3 separate regions of the Homo sapiens genome follow, and all the other regions are linked to region 1. The links are contacts of gene promoters, found by promoter capture Hi-C in human tissues and cell types (Jung and others, 2019). All regions are on one chromosome and are shown on one strand. Each heading gives the region's core, a stretch centred on a gene start or on the middle of the fragment in contact. The rest is flanking DNA. Distances are from core to core; before and after follow the strand shown. Region 1 holds the start of F10 (coagulation factor X). Region 2 overlaps PCID2 (PCI domain containing 2). Region 3 overlaps MCF2L (MCF.2 cell line derived transforming sequence like).

Region 1 (4,457 bases), core at 1,319-3,818:
AGCAAAATTTTCAGTCAGTAAGGTCCAAACTCATGAAGAATGGGTTTAAACTTGTTGAATGTAAAGATTGAAACTGAAGCCACGTAGCTTTAATGATTGCCAGTACAACAGCAGTAGTTTAAAGGCTGGCACTGCAGGTGCTCTGCGTATTCTGATTTTATTAAAATAAAAAGTTGGATTGCAGAAAACACTCACAGGTGGCAGGACAGGGCTGAATAATGTCCCTCCAAATTCATGTCTTTCCCAGAACCTCAGAACCTGACCTTAATTGGAAATAGAACTTTTGTGATGTATTTAGTTAGGAAGACATTTTATGGGAGTAGAGTGAGCCCTAAATCCAATGACTGGTGTCCTTCTGAGAGAAAAGAAGACAGAAAAACAGCCATGGTGAGAACCCCATGCGATGATGGAGGCAGCGATGGGAGCAATGCTCCCACAAGCCATGGGCTGTGAGGCCGCTGGCACCCCGAGGCCAGGAAACAGGCCTAGAGCAGACTCTCTCCCAGCCTCTGGAGGAACCAGCCCCGCTGACGCCTTGATTTTGAACTTCCAGCCTCCAGAGCTGTGGGAGAAATGTTTCTGTTGCTTTAAGCTACTTGGTCCATTGTCCTTTCTTGTAGCAGTACCAGCAAAGGAATGCTGAGGTCCCACCGCCCCAGAAGAACTTCCGTGACTGCCAGGACAGCTGTGCTCGTTTAAAGGCTAGACTGCAGATGCTGTGCGCATTCTGATTTTATTAAAATCAAAAGTGTGCACAGCAGGGTCCTGAGTGGGACCTTCTGGGACCTGTGTTCAGCCCCACCCACCCCACAGTGCAGCTGCCGAGGCCTCTGAGGCAGAGTAGGGGAGAGAGATGGCCTGGCCCTGGCTCTCCGGGGCTGGCCATGTCCACCCAGGGTCCAGGCCGGCCCCCGGGGACACCACAGGCCATGGTTATGAGCCAGGCCCGCATCACACAGCTAAGGGTGCCAATACCCTGTGGACCCAGAGGTCCGCGAGGTGGGCGCCTGCATTTCCCATTGGCAGGAAGGGAAGCTGGCGCTCCACCAGGACTCTGCATAACTCCCCTAGTTTCCTCCTGTGGGTCTGGGTGGGCTCCTGGCCTGTCTTCTCATCCCCACCCTCTGCTTCTTCCCAGGAAGAGGAGTCCTGCCAACTTCCATTCCCAATAAGCCAGAGCAGCTTCCAGAGTCCCGGGCCGGGCTTAGGGCCTCGGGAGCCCCGGGCCGGGCTTAGGGCCTCAGGATCCTAGAGCATTCCGGCTGCAGAATTTTCTACCAATTCGCGGAAGCATCTGTCTGTTTGCAGAGTAGCTTTGCTGTCGATGATGATGGCATGGGTCCTTCCAGGGCCTTGTTCCACCCACGCTGATCTCATCCCACCACAAGCATCACAGTGGGCTCCTGCAGGGGGCAGTGTGGCCTGAGGGGGAGGAAGAAGGCTGGGCGAGTTGGAGCCACACAGTACCCCATGAAGACGGGAGTCCCGTTCCGCGTGGGAGACAGGAAGATGTGGCTCAGGGGACAGAGGCTGGGGAGGGCAGGGGGTTGAGGGTGGGATGGAGAAGACCCCCGTGTGATGTGACTGGAGCTCCAAGTCACCAGGCGGAGGGGCCGTTTAGGTCAGTGATGCACTGAGGATCCACTCAGCCTTCCCAGGGGTCTCCCCTTTCCACCCCACGAGGGTCTCCCCCTGCTCCGTCTCTCCCTCACACATTCCCTTCCCAGGCCTGGGTCCCCTTGGTGCCCCTGCCTGTCCACTTTGTCCAGGATGCAAACAAGTCTAGGGTCCCTGTCTCTCGTGTCCCCACCAGAGGGGCCTCCTCTTCCTCCGCTGTCCCCAGGCTTGCCTGGCTTCTGTCCTGTCTGGGCCTCTGCTTTTGGACAGACCCGGGGGTCCTGGACAGCCCTGCTGCCCCCACCTGTCCAGCTGTGCATTAGGCAGCTCCTTCCCCGACGGAGCCAGTCCGAGAGTGGTGGCACTGGCTCGGCTCAGCCTCCTCCTCCCTGGGAGCTCCTCTGCTGTGCCCCTCGTCCTGTGCCTCCCTGTGGTGGCAGATGGCTAACTGTCCTGTCTCTGCCTGCCCCAACCCCTCCCTCTCTCTCTGTCTCCGTCTTTCTACCTCTGTCTCTGCCTCTTGGCCTCCCATCTCACTGTGTCTCCGTTTCTCCTTCCCTCTCCCTTTCTCTCTCTGACTCTGTCCTTGTGTTTTTGTCTCTGTGACCTCTGATCCGCCCGTCTGACTCTCAGCCCCAGGGAGCCACAGCTGGCCTTGAGGATGCCGTTGGCTGGAAAGGCCAAGCCCAGCCATCCGAGCCCAGCCTCTGGCAGCACTCAAGGCACCCACCGTCCAGGCTGCAGAGATGAGAGGGTTTCCCCAACTGCCGCCCCTCCCTGCTCCCTGGCGCTGCTTTTGGGTCTGAAGGGCGAGGGGCACTTACGACTTTCCCCGAGCAGCAGGAGGCCAGCCAGGGAGGCACTGAGCAGGACGAGGTGCAGTGGGCGCCCCATGGTGTGGCCGAGTACTGTGTCCCTGTCCTCACTGGGACAGGCTGCTGGAGCAAAGTCCACGCCCCAGCTGGGATGGCTGTTGTCTGGCTGCTTATCACTTGGCTTAGGCCTCCTGATTGGAGCCGAGACCTGCTGGCGAGGCAGGGGAGTGACCACGCTGGGAACACATCCACTCTGGCCCCACCTTCCCCAGGCAGAGCTGGGCGGCCAGAGAGGCCCCGCAGAACCTCATCCTCATCAGTCACCAGGGCCGCGGGTGTGGGGACTTTCTGTTCTAAGAATAAAAACATCATTTCGTGCTCATTTTGTAGTTTCCAGATGTTTACATTTAACTCTCAGTCCTCACATACAAATATCATTTTCCCCATCATTTTTCCAGAAGAGAAAACTAAGTTTAGAGAGCGCAGAAGCCTGAGCCGAGGCCGCTGGCAGTGAGCGTGGGATCTGAGCCCAGGACTTCTGCCCCAAGGCCCTGCTTGTTTCTGGGCGGGCCCTTCCGCTCACAGCCACTCTCTGGGTGGTATCAGGTGGTCTCATGTCACGGGGGGGGCTTGGCATCTGCACCATGGCCTCCCACAGGCCAGGCTGGCACCTGCCCCACCCACCCCCAAACCTTCTGTGCCCGCATGGCCCCAAAACGTACTTCTGTGGGGAGTGACCTTCCCGTGACCATCTGGAGGGACAGGCTGTGTCTGAAGCCCCTCCTGACCTGCCCACCACTGGCCACACTGTTCCGAGGCTGAGAGGGCTTCTGGGCTCGTTCTCCAGTGCAGAAACCTCCCATCACAAGGTCCTGAGTGTCTCTGCTCAATGGCTGTGGGAGTCACTGGGAGGTGCAGCCGGGCTTTTTGCCTCTGGGGTCTCTGGAATAAATGGTCTAAAGCTTGGCCAGTGTGGCGATCACTGCCTGCTATGCCGTAGTGGCCGGGGAGCAATGCCCCTAACACCCACAGCACTGGCCACTGCCTCATGGTGCATCTGCCTTGATGGGTCGCCCTGTCTCGCAGCCACCTGCACATGAGCCTGGTGTGCACACATTGTGCGTCATTGTGCCTGGCACACAGGAGGCACTCACTGAGCCCCACCCGACTGCACAAACTGATGATGCTGGATGCCAACGCCAGGCTGGCCTCCCACGGCGGGCACCACGCACAGCCTGGTCCTCTGAGAAGGGCCTTCCTGGTGGCACCAGATGTCTGACTCCTGCCTCTCCTGGTCTCCACCCTCTGACATCGCCTCTAGGCATGTTTGTATGGAGAGACCAATGCGGTGTGTGCACCAACAGCAGGATGCTCATGGCAGACACGCAGTCTTTGTCATCAATGCTGGGTGGCGATGCTGGCTTTGGTGGCCCAAGCCTGCCGCCTCATCCCACCCTGTCCCAGGCCCATGGCCAGTGGCCTCCCCGTATTCTATCTCGCCACTCACAGAAAGCTGGAGCTGAGCCGTGGCAGGTGGCACGTCCCATATGAAACATGTAGCCTTTGGGGGCGCCCAGGCCCTTCAGCGAAGCCTCTGGGGAGTCCCGGGCCCCCTCCTCCGGCAGCACCATGAGGTGGGCGCCTGCATTTCCCATTGGCAGGAAGGGAGGCTGGCGCTCCACCAGGACCCCGCATGACTCCCCTAGTTTCCTCCTGTGGGTCTGGGTGGGCTCCTGAACTGTCCTCTCATCCCCACCCTCCGCTTCTTCCCAGGAAGAGTCCTGCCAACTTCCACTCCCAAGAAGTCAGAGTGGCTTCCAGAACCCTGGGCTGGGCTTAGGCCCTCAGGAGCCCCGGGCATTCTGGTTGCAGAATTTTCTACCAATTCACTGAAGCATCTGTCTGCAGAGTGGCTTTGCTGTCGATGACCATGGCATGGGCCCTTCCAGGGCCTTGTTCCATCCATGCTGATCTCATCCCACCATAAGCATCACGGTGGGCTCCTGTTTTACACATGAGGAAACT
Region 2 (4,457 bases), core at 631-3,130, 57 kb before region 1:
GGTGATTAAAATGTATTGTGGAGGTACATTTTTAAATATGTCTTTATATTTTTCATGAATGTAGAAATCATCTGAGCAGGGTCAGACTTTTAAAATGTTATCATAATGGTTTGCCAGCTGACCTTAGGCAAATCAGAATCTCTGTGAAAGTTATTTTCTTCAGTTTTCCTCTGTTAAGTAGGACTTCCCAGGCAGTTCCTGTTGAATTTGGGGGTATGGATTTTACTTAAGGAAAGTCATTGATCACAGAAATGAAACTGGGATGATATTTTTTGAGATAATAAAGGGAGGGGGCTTTTGCCTTTTAAATCAGGAGACAGTGGTAGAAAATGGAGCAGGAAGGGGCCTGAAGCAGGTGCGTTGGTCTCATGCGTGCTGGCTCTGCCTTCTTTGCAGCTGAGGAGTACCTGTCATTTGCCTTTGAGCATTGTCACCGTTCTAGTCAGAAGAACAAAAGGATGATTCTGATCTATTTGCTTCCAGTAAAAATGCTATTGGTGAGTGATTATTACTCCATGTTTATAGATCCTGGTGCTTTCACAAAGTTGACAGCTGATAGGTTTTTTTAAAACCTAGCAGACAGTCTGTAGTTGATCACAGCCTGAGCTGTGTATGAGCACACCCCAAAATAAAGAAGGCGCATGCATTGTGTGTGGCCCAAACCCAGAGCTTCATGCCTTACGCCTCCAGGTCCTTCTAGAAAAGCTCTCCCTGTGTCTTGTTTCCCTTAAAAGTATTTAACTCAAGAGTTTAACGTTCATGTGACAAAATAAGTACGTATCATTTGTATTCCTCCCTTAAAACCTAAGTTAAAAGCAGTGGATTCACCAAGAAAGAAAAATGTCATTTCACCCTCTCTGTGGGTATTTCATTTAGTTACTAAAATGTATTTTTGATACTTGAAATAACTGGTAAGTTAATTGACTAATGAGAAAAGCATTGCACACAGGTGGCTAAAGCTTCTGTAGCTCTGAATGGATTGTGATGGAGAAGCGCTGCTGTGGCCTTGCCCTCCTCACTTCTCACCCCATTTAACTGACAGCCAGTTTCAAATGCTTAGCTGATTCTTCTGGAAGCTACTTCCGTATGCCTACATCTCATGCTTATACTAGCATTTCTTCAGTTATCACTCTCCTGTTATAGAAATTCGAAGAAATGTGAGAAGGTCAAGATCAAGGTCACGTGTCATGGAATGACAAAAGTGTGTTGTACCCAGGTGTTCTGATTTCTAGACCTGTGTTGTTTTCCTAGTGTACTATGATGTGTTTAATCCATGGACATTCTAAGAAACTCAGGTTGCAATTTTCTTAAAACTTAATTCCTTGATATGAATATTTATCAAGGACAATTTTGTCAAAAATGAAAGCATTTTCATTCTGGAAAATTGACTCTTAGGGTCACATGCCCACTGTGGAGCTCCTGAAAAAGTATCACCTGATGCAGTTTGCGGAAGTAACCAGAGCTGTGAGGTAGAGTATGCCATCCTTCCTGTTTGGGGTTTTAAAAATGCAAGCCTGATGAGAGTTGACGTGCACGCTCTGTGAGAAACTCACCCTCCTTCTGACGCGCCTCCCCCCTCACCAGCGAGGGCAACCTGCTGCTGCTGCACGAGGCGCTGGCGAAGCACGAGGCCTTCTTCATTCGCTGCGGAATCTTCCTCATCCTGGAGAAGCTGAAGATCATCACCTACAGGAACCTCTTTAAGAAAGTGTAAGCATTTCCCCGGCACATTGGGCTCCCAGTGTGGCTCTCGGCAGAGCAGTCAGACATCCAGGGCTGTTGCAGTCTAAGAGAGAAGGCCACCGTGTGGGTGGGGTCGTTATCTTCCTTCCATTGTGTGGGATAAAATGAAGCCTCCGCCCACTGCCTCCTGGGGACCCTGCGCGAGACACGTGAGTAGCACAAGCTGTGCCTGGACTTGTGGGGGAGGTAAGCAGGTTCTATGTGAGAAGACAACTTGAGAACATCAGCCCTGAGAGCCGCGGTACCACATTTCATCAGAGCACACAGGACTCGCCACTCACTCCCCTCCCTTAGTGCTGACCAAGTAGCCCTCCCAGCCACTTCTGCCTGTCACAAAGGCAGATGCAGAGATCGTCATTCCTTTCCTCACACGTCTTCTGAGGCCTCGTCCCAGCAGGATCTCAGTTGTGTAAACTTCAGGCAAAGGCCAACTTTGTATAGAGCTGTGGGTAGCACGTCACAAACAGTAGGGACCCTATTTCGCTGAGTCTGTGAGACACAGCCCATTGTCAGGTGCTTCCTGATTTCAGGGAGATTAAAATGTGAAAAAAAAAACCGAACCTTAATGAAATACTTAGAAAATAATTAAAAATTGTGTTTGTACTAGTGACTTTTTAAAGATTGAAAAGTCAAATTAGATTTAATAGCTCTGAGAGTGTAGTTTAGAGTTTATCTAATAGGTGGGAATTTTTTTACTCCTTTAGAACACCGGCTTATTAAGAGGTGCCTTTTCTTGGCTGTGGAGTATTGCATCCTGTCGGTAACCACAGTGCCCTTCTCCTCCCCTCTTCCAGGTATTTGTTACTGAAAACACACCAGCTGTCTCTGGATGCTTTTCTGGTTGCCTTGAAGTTCATGCAGGTGGAGGACGTGGACATTGACGAAGTTCAGTGTATTCTGGCTAACTTGATATACATGGTGTGTGAGTCCTGGTTTTAATTTAAGCAGCTACTCACAGCAAGATTCAGCCCAGAATTTGAAGCTTCAGTGTGGTGGTGTTAAAATTGTTAAAAGGCCTTCTGCTTTTTTTTTGATAGAACTAATTTTAGCCCAGGAAATACCATTCACCAGGGCCTTAGGAGCATGAGGGGACGGATACTCTTGTATGTTTGCATATTCTTTACTGGCGGTACATCCCTCGGTATCTGTCGATTCTCCAACCCCCCTCGGATACCAAAATCCACAGGTGCTTCAGTCACTGATAGGACGTAGTATTTGCATATGAGCTATGCACGTCCTCCTGTATACTTTAAATTATCTCTAGGTTACTTAAAATACTCAGTGCACTGTAGATAGCTGTTGTACTGTATTGTTTAGGGAATCACGGCAAGGGAAGAGCGTCTGTACGTGTTCATTACAGATGCATTTTTTTTCCCCAAATATTTTCAGTCCACAGTTGGTTAGATTCATGGATATGAAACCCACCGTGGATATAGAGGGTTGATTGTATTTATTTTTACTCATTGTCTTCCCGCTGAACTGAACTGTGCCGCTCTTGGGGAAGAATGCTAATGCCAAATTAATTAGATCACCCAGCATCTTTGACATGACTCAGATCCAAAAATGTAAACGCATTCCTCCCTTTCTGCCCCGCAGGGACACGTCAAAGGCTACATATCGCATCAGCATCAGAAGCTGGTGGTCAGCAAGCAGAACCCATTTCCTCCCCTGTCCACGGTGTGTTGAAAGTACACGGAGCCCCGAGGACGGGTGAGCAGTTGTTTCTTTCCACTTTGGTTGTGCTGATGAGACCGGTCCGGTACTGCAACAAGGCTCCCTGAAGCCGGAACTCTTGGAGGCGCTTTTCCCAGGGATGCTGAGGCTGAGATTTTCAGCACACCCGAGTTAATCTCCTTCATTTGTAACTAATTTCAGCCTGATGAAAACCTGGAATTCCTTTTTCACAGACTCGGCTGGTTCTGGAGTCTTTGTGAGACTTCTTTGAAGGAGGCTTTGCGTGAAGGCTGCTCGGCTCACTTTTCCTAAGTGTGGTTCCTGAAGGCTGTCTTTGTAACTTTTTGTAGTTCTTTGTGTAAAAAGCGTATTCTGAATTTATACACATGGCATGTTCTTCATTATATCTTCCAGGATACATCTATTTTTATATATTAAATTTGAATGTGTTATCAAAATGCTTGGTTAACTTAAGGCACCTTTTTAAAAGCAGAATTTAATTTGATTTAAATTTTCCAGATTTTATAGCTTGCCTGTATGGATGCTCCTCAATTTATGATAGGGTTACATCCCAATAAACTTATTTTATTTGCCTTTGCTTTGTTGGTTAAAAAAAAATTTCTTTTAAAAAACCATCTTAAATTGAAAATACATTTAATACACCTGCTACTAAACATTATGGCTCACTCTAGCCTTCCTTAACATACTCAGAAGCCTCCACTCTTAGGCAAAATCAAACACAAAGCCGATTTTATTTTATAATAAAGTGTAGATGCCGGGCGTGGTGGCTCACGCCTGTAATCCCAGCACTTTCAGAGGCCAAGGCAGGCAGATCACCTGAGATTGAGAGTTGGAGACCAGCCTGACCAACATGGAGAAACCCCGTCTCTACTAAAAATACAAAATTAGCCGGGCGTGGTGGCGCATACCTGTAATTCCAGCTACTCAGGAGGCTGAGGCAGGAGAATCGCTTGAACCCGGGAGGCAAAGGTTGCAGTGAGCCGAGATCATGCCATTGCACTCCAGCCTGGGCAACAAGA
Region 3 (4,457 bases), core at 1,467-3,966, 52 kb after region 1:
AGATGGCCTGGGGTTGAAGGCCAGGAAGGCAGGATTCTTGTCCATCCTTGAACCCCCTGCATCTGGCACAGCTGATGAGTGAGACTTCTCTCCATGTTACGCACAGCCACTGAGTTATGGATAATGCACCACCTCTCAGAAACTAGCTCGGATATAGAAGAACTCAATACCATCAACCAACAGGATCTAACTGATATGTATAAAACTTCACCTAACAATAGCAGAATACACATTCTTTTCAAGTGAGGAACATATACCAAGAAAGACCATATTCTTGGGCTGCAAAACAAATCTCAACACATTTATAAGAACAGAAATCATACAGAGTATGTTCTCTGATTACAATGAATCAAACTTGAAATCAAGAATGGAAAGACAACGGGAAAATCTCTGAACACTGGAAGCCAAACAACATACATTTAAAGAATGGATGGGTCAAAGAGGAAGTTCCAAGGGAAATTGGAAAAAAAAAAAAAAAAAGCTGGAGTAAATGAAAAAGAAAATACAATACATCAAAATTTGTGGAACACAGCTAAATCAGTGATGAGAGGGAAATTTATAGTGTTCTTATTAAATATGTATGTTAGAAAAGAGGAACAGTCTCAAATAAAGAATGTAAGTTCCCACCAAAGCAATTTGTAGAAATAATAAAGGTAGGATCAGAAATCAATGAAACTGAGAACAGAAAACAACAGAGAAAACTAATGAAACAAAGAACGAGTTCTTTGGAAAGATGAGGAGTGATACATCTCAATCTAGATTGACAAAGAAAAAAGGAAAAGATGCAAATTACAAATATCAGAAATGAAACAGGGAATATCACTACAGACCCTGCAGACGTCAAAAAGATAAGAAAGAATACTATAAACAACCCTACACATTGCCTTGAAAAGCACACTACTATATCTCATTGTGAAACAGATAGTTTCAATAGTTGCGTAACTATTAAGGACACTGAATTCATAATTTTAAAAGTCTCCCAAAGAAATCTCTAGGCCCAGATAGTTTTATTGAGCATCTACAAGAATCCTACAACTAACATTACACCTGACAGTGAAAAACTAAACACTTTCCTCCTAAGGTTGGGGACAAAGCAGAGATGTCCAGTCTCGCCACTCTTATCATATGGTGGAAGCTCTAGTTGGGGCAGTACGCAGTGGGGCAGGGTGTTGTGGGTGGGGGGTAGAATAAAAGGCATATCTTCAAAAAGGAAGAAACCAAACTGTCCTTATTTGCACATGACATGATGGTCTATATGGAAAATGTCAAGGACTTCACAAAAAACCATCTCAAATACGTGTGCTCAGCAAGGTCGCAGGAGACAAGATAAATATACAAAAATCAATTGTGTTTCTATGTGCAGCAATGAATACATAAATGCCAAAATTAAAAATATAATACTGTGATGACTTCTTAAAGTGGAATATTAAAGGTAAGTCAAACAAAATACGTACTGAACTTGTGTGCTGAGAACTACTCGACACTGATGAAAGAAATCAAATGTTGGGAATACCATGTTTGTTGACTAGAAGAGTCAACACAGTAAAGACATTTCTTCTCCTTAAAATATAGGTTTAACACAACTCCTATGAAAACCCCAGGAAATTTGTTTTCATATATGTAGACAAGATAATTTTAAAATTGCCATGAAAAGGCAAAAGAACTAGAAGCTAACACAATTTTGAAAAAGAAAACAAAGAGGGAAGAATGAGTGTACTTGATTTCAAGACATTATATAGTTGCAGCAATTAAGACCTTGTGGTACAGACAGAGGAAGAGGTATGTAGATAAACATAATTGAATAGAGAGTCTCCAGAACAGACCCACACAAATGTGCCCAGAGCTTTGACAACGGTGGAGAAGAAATCCAGTGGAAGAAAGGGCCTTTTCAACAAACAGTGCTACAGCAATTGGACATCCAGAGGTAAAACAAATCATGATCTAATTCTCATACCTTATACAAAAATTAGCTCAAATTAGGTCATAGACTTCAATGTAAAACTATGAAATTTGAGGGGAAAAAGGCTTAGGGGAATATACTTGGAATCTAGGACCAAAAGTATAAACCTTAAAAGGAGAAATTGACAAATTGGAGTTCGTCAAAATTAAATGCTTTGGCTACGTGAAAAACCCTGTTAAAGAGGATGAAAAGACAAGTTACAGACCAGGAGAAAATATTCGCAAACCACATATGTGGCAAAGAACTAGTATCTGCAGTATATAAGGAATTCTCAAAATGTAACAAAACCGTAAAACAAAAGCACAAAACCAAACAATCCAGTTAGAAAATGGGCAACAGAAATAAGACATTTTACCAAAGAGGATATGCGAATGGCAAATAAGCACGTGGAAAGGTGTTTAGCACCATCAACACTGGGGAAACGCAACAGAAAACCACCGTGAGATGGCACACACATCAGGATGTGAGCATAATATGAAGAATCACTACCCCACCACGTGCTGGGGAAAGGGGAAGCAACTAGTCTCTCATACACTGAGAACCGTTTGGCATTTTCTTAAACGAAACATGCAACTACTATATAACCCTGCAATTACATTCTGGGCACTTAAGCCCAAGAAATGAAAACTTACATTTACACCAACATCAGTATATCAATGTTTGTAACAGCTTTATCTGTAATACTCAAATCCGGAAACAACCCAGATACCCTTCAACAGGTGAATGATTGAAAGAACTGTGGTCCGTCCACACCGGGGAACACAATGAGTGAGCCACCGGCACCTGGGGGTCTGCAGAGAGCTGTGCTGAGCAAACAAACAAATCCCGAGAGTGACATTCTGTGGGATTCATTAATGTCACATTCTTGAAATGGCAAAAGCACAGCCACGGAAACAGATGAGTGGTTGCCGGGGGCTGAGGAGGGACATGGGTGAGTCCACGAAGGGCCGCAGGAGGGAGACGTCTGGGTCTGGCTGCACTGGCCGTGTCGCTGTGCACCTCATGACTGTGACGCCGTCCTACAGTCTGGCACACAGCAGGCACATCCTACATGCATGTTGAATAAAAGGGCATGCAAATGACTATGAAGGGAGAGCAAAGGCTTCCTGCTACTTTACGAATAATGCAGTGTAAGTGCATCCCAGTGAGCTGATTTTCAATCACCTTTCTATACAATGACGCAGTCATCAATCGTGCATTTCAAGGCTCAGCCTGACTTAATCTCACAGGCTCCACCTGGCAAGCGGAGACTTTTCTGCATTAAGCCAAAGTCAACTGGGTGGCACGGCTCAGCTCCCGGCACTGGGACCAGGGCGCAGGCACAGGAGGCCCCGTGAGCATCAGGGCGGCTGCCGGCTCCACCCAGGGCCACTCACCTCCCGGAAGCCCTGCTCAAAGTGCCGGAGCTGCAGACACTGCTCCAGTTTCTGCTGATGCTTTGCCCAGAACTCATCGAAGGCAGCCTCGGTTTCGTTCAGCTGGGCCAGGAGCCTGGGAAAGAGGAGGAGTTGACCGTCTGTGTGGCCCACGGCGCCCCATGCAACGTGGAGCGCGGTGGGTGTTCAAGCGACCCCAAGGCTCATCTCCACCCCGGGCCTTCCTGAGATCCTGGCCTCCGCTCACTCCCTGCACCTAAACCTGGGATCTGCGGGCGCGGGCACTCAGGGCCGTCAGCATGGGAGGGAGGCCCTGGAGAAAGCATCAGGGGCTGTGTCCTTTCCTTCCTGCTTCTCTCCCTCTAGGTCACTGCGACTAGGCTGAGCCGCCGAGTTTGTTCATTTTTATTTTTTAAAAGTTTAAAAACTTTTTTTAAAATTTATTTTTTGAGATAGGGTCTGGTTCCATCACCTGGGCTGGGTGCAGTGGTGCAGTCTCGGCTCACTGCAACCTCTGCCTCCGCGTAGCTGGGACTCCAGCTGTGCACCACCCAGGTGCAATCTCGGCTCACTGCGACCTCTGCCTCCACGTAGCTGGGACTCCAGCTGTGCACCACCCAGGTGCAATCTCGGCTCACTGCGACCTCTGCCTCCGCGTAGCTGGGACTCCAGCTGTGCACCACCCAGGTGCAATCTCGGCTCACTGCGACCTCTGCCTCCGAGTAGCTGGGACTCCAGCTGTGCACCACCCAGGTGCAATCTCGGCTCACTGCGACCTCTGCCTCCGCGTAGCTGGCACTCCAGCTGTGCACCACCCAGGTGCAATCTCGGCTCACTGCGACCTCTGCCTCTGCGTAGCTGGGACTCCAGCTGTGCACCACCCAGGTGCAATCTCGGCTCACTGCGACCTCTGCCTCCGAGTAGCTGGCACTCCAGCTGTGCACCACCCAGGTGCAATCTCGGCTCACTGCGACCTCTGCCTCCGCGTAGCTGGGACTCCAGCTGTGCACCACCCAGGTGCAATCTCGGCTCACTGCGACCTCTGCCTCCGCGTAGCTGGCACTCCAGCTGTGCACCACCCAGGTGCAATCTCGGCTCACTGCGACCTCTGCCTCCGAGTA

The links. The method cuts DNA at HindIII sites, captures the fragments that hold promoters and counts their contacts. A contact is called where the count stands out against the background at its distance.
Region 2: a fragment that was not itself captured here is called in contact with the fragment with the promoter of F10 in region 1 in 2 of the 25 tissues and cell types used here (dorsolateral prefrontal cortex and psoas muscle).
Region 3: a fragment that was not itself captured here is called in contact with the fragment with the promoter of F10 in region 1 in 1 of the 25 tissues and cell types used here (spleen).

What each region holds. Positions count from the first base shown.
Region 1 is chr13:113,120,910-113,125,366 of GRCh38, reverse strand. F10 (coagulation factor X) reads right to left here and starts at 2,568. Exons shown (of 8, transcript NM_000504.4): 1 at 2,442-2,568. The coding sequence starts at 2,511. The HindIII fragment of the contact is 14,274 bases long and covers 1-4,457 here.
Region 2 is chr13:113,177,170-113,181,626 of GRCh38, reverse strand. It overlaps PCID2 (PCI domain containing 2), which reads left to right. Exons shown (of 14, transcript NM_001127202.4): 10 at 397-497; 11 at 1,396-1,469; 12 at 1,585-1,710; 13 at 2,538-2,661; 14 at 3,340-4,091. The coding sequence ends at 3,429. Among named protein-coding and RNA genes, the nearest start is that of PROZ, 21 kb to the right of the region's middle. The HindIII fragment of the contact is 4,578 bases long and covers 1-4,169 here.
Region 3 is chr13:113,069,053-113,073,509 of GRCh38, reverse strand. It overlaps MCF2L (MCF.2 cell line derived transforming sequence like), which reads right to left. Exons shown (of 30, transcript NM_001112732.3): 9 at 3,337-3,451. Among named protein-coding and RNA genes, the nearest start is that of F7, 35 kb to the left of the region's middle. The HindIII fragment of the contact is 7,663 bases long and covers 1-4,457 here.